Linked DNA regions of Homo sapiens: region 2 is linked to region 1. Evidence: promoter capture Hi-C in 16 types of primary human blood cells and fetal thymus (Javierre and others, 2016). All regions are on one chromosome and are shown on one strand. Each heading gives the region's core, a stretch centred on a gene start or on the middle of the fragment in contact. The rest is flanking DNA. Distances are from core to core; before and after follow the strand shown. Region 1 holds the start of TAAR8 (trace amine associated receptor 8). Region 2 has its middle 11 kb from the start of TCF21.

Region 1 (2,700 bases), core at 26-2,525:
GAGACAAGTGACATGTGTGAACCACTTTATCATTTATTATTTAATGTAGTCAATATCTTTACAATAGTTTAATAGTTTAATCTTCCTGTGACCTTTTTCCTGGTTAATTTGAAAAGTGATATATTTCTCCAATTTTGAAAAGTTTTATTTGTTTCTTATATTTAATTTCCTTATAAATTCATAATTTTAAAAATATTCTTAATTTTCTCAACTTAGTGCTTAAACTTATTCTAAAAATAAACTAATGGTTGATGAACTAGCCTTTAAAACATCTCCACTTAAAATAAGTTTTATGGCTTTCCTAAACCAAGGATAAAATAGAGCATAAATCAAAGGATTCATGGCTGAGTTATAATAAGCACTCCAACAGCAAATTTCATAGATATAGGCAGGGGTCAGGAAGCCCATAAAGGCATCAATTAATATATCAACTGTATACGGTAACCATGAAATAACAAATGCTAGTACCGTGACCCCCAGGGTTTTAGCTGCTTTCCTCTCTCTCTTGGCCACTCTGATTTTATAACTCTCTGAGGATGATTCTACTTTGCTACTAGTAGTTTCAATTTTTATAGCTTGTTGTTTAGCTATAAGAAAAATCTTACTGTAAAGAATTATCATAACAAGGGTAGGTATGAAGAATAACAGAAAATCTATCAACACCCAGCCTTGACTTACAATAATTTGACAGCCACCTACGCAGTTGAGAGCACTTACTAATTCCTCCAGCCCATCATCATTGACACCTGTGTAGAACACAGCACCGCTGTACGTGAGAGGCAGAATCCAGGACACGCTGATGCAAATTCCCGACACAGACACGGTGAACTTGGTAGCATAGACCAGGGGATCAGTAACCACAATGTACCTGTCGATGCAGATGAAGCACAAGTGGAGGACAGAAGAGTAACAAAATGCCACATCACAGCAACTGTGAAGAGTACAAAATTTGGCTCCAAAATACCAGCAGCTCTCCACCGTCCTGACCATGCTGAAAAGCATCACAGTCACACCTACCAAGAAGTCAGCACAGGCCAGAGAGGCAATGAGAAAATTGGTTGGAGAGTGCAGCTGCTTAAAATGAAGAACAGAAGTCATTACTAAGAGATTTCCAAATACAGCCAGCAAAGACCCAAAGCTAAACGCCGTGTACAGAATTACCCGGGACCCAGGAGAATAGGGAGTTTCAATACAAGATCCATTCACATCCTCATAGCAAAGCTGCACAACAGGTTGGGAAAAATTGCTGGTCATGGTTCTGCTGTTTGTTGTTTGCTATTTCTGTCCTTCCTTGTGATAGGGAATTATAATTTTGAATTCTGAAAATTAAAACAAAAACAAACTGCATATGTGAGTACTTACAAATTTTGTTTCATATTATATTCTTTTTCAATTTTAATTATAAAGAGAAATTAAATTCAAAAACATAAAAGATAATTCTGTCTTTAATCTCATAATTATTTCTGTCGCTATGTCTAAACCTCGTCATTAACCCCAAGCAAATCTACTATGAATTTTCATCAGCTGAGTAATCACATTAACCAAGTAATTGAAGAAATGTAATTTAAATACCTGGTTTTATATACATGTGAATCCTTCTTTTCAAAGGACGATCATGTATAATATAATTACATATTTGAGAAGTCACCTTTTAATAAGCTTCCATCTCCTAGGACATTTTAGGAAGCCAGCCAATCCATTGTACCCATTATAAATTCTTCACAAGGAATCCCCATAGTGTAAGGTGTGAATCATGAAATGAATCCCACTTTTGATAATTATAATTAATAAGTTCACCTACAATAGGAGAACTGTTTCTCTGTGCTCTGCAACTTGGTAGAAACACTTATGATTTTCATAACCATGAGATTTCTTTAAGTTCAACTGTCCTGAAATAGCCTAACCCAAGATTTGACAATAGTATTACCTATTCCTTATTTACAAGACTATCTATATAATTTGCAGCATCCAGCACAAAATAAAATGCAGAGACCCTTGTTCAAAAGTATGGACAAAAAGTGTCATTAAAGGTACTGAAATAGAAAGCTTTTACCTTTCTTTTATGGTCTTTCTTGGCCTGTCATAGTGTTCGATATTTGCTATGGAATGCCCTTGGACAAAGAGGTATTTGCAGGGCAAGTGAGGACTCTCACAGGTGTCTGCATTCCCTGCCTTGCAACTCAGCTTGCACATGGTCCACCCACTGCCAGATTCCCCCTCCTACCAGCTGCTGAAGTAATATGCCATAGTCAGGATGGGGGTGAGAAGCTGAGCCAGGGATTTGCCCTTCTCACAGGCCTGCTACCTCAACAAAAGGCAGACCAATGACCCCCAAGGGATTACAACCTGCACAGCAGAAAGCACTTGATACCTGGATTGGGGTTCATGAGGGGCTTGGCCCTGCTGAGGAGCTCATCAAACGTGCTGTGACGCTGCCAGCGGGAGATGGAGGCAACAGTCTATGCCTAGCCCTGAGACTGTGGAGGATGTGCCTGGCTGCAACTCTCCCTGTGATGCATCCAGTCCTCTGCAGGGATGAAAAGAGGATGGCAGTGGTCCCTGGTCAGAGCGGGTAGGAGGAGACTGGATGGAGCCCAAGGTGCCAGGGGGCAGGGGAACATGAGGCTGAATACCCCTCCCAGGGAAGAAGGAACAAGGTGTAATGCAAGACTACTAGTGGTCTGAAGTTCCAAGCACCCA
Region 2 (2,700 bases), core at 126-2,625, 1.3 Mb before region 1:
TCTCTTTGTTTCAACAATTTGTATTGTCGGAGCTATAATGGATTCAACTGCAGTTGAAGAATGTCTTTACAAAGATTATGCTCTGATTCCATATTGAAAAAATGTTATTTTATGCATAGAAAGTAATGGAAATAGAGAATCAATGTGTAGTAACAAAGGCATTTGCCATTGGAAGAATATCCATAATTCCATATTTTCTTACAAATTAACATCAAAGTGCTTTTTGGGGCATAAGAAAAAAAGTAAACAATAAGTAGATGATCCTGTGATATTTGGTTACTGAGATACATGCAAAGGATTGCCTAACACAGGCTGTATTAGTTTCCTGTGGCTGCCTTAATAAATTTCCACAAACTTGGTGCCTTCAGCTGACAATAATTTACTCTTCTCTTAGTTCTGGAGGCTGGAAGTTCAATGACAGTTTTGTTGGGTTGAAATCAAGGTGTAGGCGGAGCCATGTTCCCTTGGAGGCTTTAGGGGACAATCTCTTCCTTGCCTCTTCTGGTTTCTGGTGGCTGCTACTCTTCCTTTGTTTGTGGCTGCATCATTTAAATCTCTACTTCTGTCTTCACATCACCATTTTCTCTTCTGTGCATCAAATCCCCCTCTCCCTTTCTCTTATAAGGACACTTGTGATGGCATTTAGGGCCTACCCAAACAACCAAGGATAATCTCTCCATCTCAAAATCGTTAATCATATCTGCAAAGACCCTTCTTCCAATTAAGGTAATATTTACGGTTTCCAGGAATTAGAATCTGATTTCTTTGAGGCCACCATTTAGCCCACTACACAGGCCAAACAATGCAACTAGGGTTAGGGAAACCTCCAAATTTGTAAGAATAAGTAAAAGAAAGCTTGGTGTGACTAATTTATGTTGCTATTTTCATTATGCTCCCTGCCAAAAATATCAAGAAAGAGTCAATATTAAAACTATAGAATGGGTATCAGTTGCTTGGAAGAAAATTACAGAGATAACAGAGAACTCTTCTAAGAAATGTTCTTAATAAACCAGAAGATAAAATTGGGTGGTAAATCACTAGATATTGACCTTTCAAAGTGGAAAATTATTCAGAAGGGCCAAAGAATTTTTTTAAAAAAACTTTTGTGTGGTAGATTAATTATAAAAATAGTTCTAAATTTCCACACGTACACAGTCTACATGTTCTAAGCAAAGTGCATTTGTAGTTTCTCCCATTGAGAGGTAAAATTTATTTCCCTATCTCTTGAATCTGGGATGCCCTTGTGACTGGCTTTAGCCAATAGAACACAGCAGAAGTGGCACTATACCTGTTGTAAACCTAGGTCCAACAGGCCTTATGACTTTCTGTTCCCTCCCTAGTTGCTACAAGAACAAACTAGCCTATGGGATGATTAGAGATGCATGGTTTAGCTGGACCCAGTGGCTCACACCTGTAATCCCAGCACTTTGGGAGGCCAAGCTAGGTGAGTTGCTTGAGGTCGGGAGTTCGAGACCAGCCTGGGCAACATGGTGAAACCCTGTCTCTACTAAAAAAGAAAAAAAGCTGGGTGTGGTGGTATGCACCTGTAGTCCCAGCTACTTGGGAGGCTGAGGTGGGAGGATTGCTTGAGCACAGGAGGTGGAGGTTGCAGTGGGCCAAGATTGTGTCACTACACTCCAGCCTGGGTGACAGAGGCAGACCCTGTCTAAAAAAAAAAAAAAAAAAAATGCATGGTTTGGTTTTCCTCATACCCTAGCCAATAACTGGCCAGCCACCAGGCATGTGAGTGAGGCTGTTCTTGACCAGCTAGCTCCTAGCCAAATAGACAGCCAGCCAAAAATGTATGGGCAAGCCCCAGCAAGAACAGTAGAGCTCAGCTCAGATCAGCAGAGCCTCTTAACTAACTCAGATTCCTGAGTAACAACTAAAGCTTATTGCTTTTAAGCCACTGGGTTTCAGGATGGTTTCTTTTATGACAAAAACTGTTACATAATAAAAAGTCACAAGACTTTCATGACTGGGATTGACTAAATGATTCAGAATGAATTAGGCTCTGAATATAAAATAATTTTTGGAATATTTTAACTAGTTTATTTTGCTTATAATTTCCTTTTATGTATCCTTAATGGCAATATAGGATTAAAATAAAGTTATAAATAAGTCTAAAAGAGATCCTTAAGTAAGTATAAAATACAAATTCTAATTTTAAAAAGGCTTAATGTCATGCTTTTATTGGAAGTATTTCTTTCCTTTGTATGGCTACAGTTTTTAAAATTTCTTTTATTCTGGGACCCTCCTACATTCAAGGTAGTTTCAACAAAATAAAAGAATTCTATACTCAGCTTTCTGCCACTTTTTCACTATATAGCTCTTGGCAATTTATTTTCCATCTCTGAGTTTCAGTTGCCCTATAAAAAAAAGTGAGGATAATAATACCTCTGGGTCAGGGTTGTTTTGAAGATGAAATATGATAGCCTCTATAAATGTGCTTCATGAATGCAAATGGATGAAAAAAATTAAGAAATCTTAGTCTGTGCTGTTATTTCTTAAATGTGCCTTACAATAACATTTTACTGGCTAAAAAGTGCTAGTGATTTCCTCAATAAGATTGTTCTAGTCCATAAAGTAGATCATTTAGGTTATATGAATTTGTTTTGTTGTTATCTCTGCTCCTTCCCCACATCATAGACACAATAAGACCTGAGAACATGACCTTTTTCCAAAAACATGTTGCTCCCC

Evidence for each region. Contacts are between HindIII fragments. The CHiCAGO score rates a contact against its expected background, and 5 or more counts as called.
Region 2: a contact is called between a fragment that was not itself captured here and the fragment with the promoter of TAAR8 in region 1, in 1 of 17 cell types (total CD4 T cells). The highest score is 6.1, in total CD4 T cells.

The regions. Positions count from the first base shown.
Region 1 is chr6:132,551,247-132,553,946 of GRCh38, reverse strand. It overlaps TAAR8 (trace amine associated receptor 8), which reads right to left and starts at 1,275. Exons shown (of 1, transcript NM_053278.3): 1 at 191-1,275. The coding sequence starts at 1,254. The coding sequence ends at 226. The HindIII fragment of the contact is 7,110 bases long and covers 1-1,661 here.
Region 2 is chr6:133,898,866-133,901,565 of GRCh38, reverse strand. No RefSeq gene overlaps it. Among named protein-coding and RNA genes, the nearest start is that of TCF21, 11 kb to the right of the region's middle. The HindIII fragment of the contact is 1,036 bases long and covers 858-1,893 here.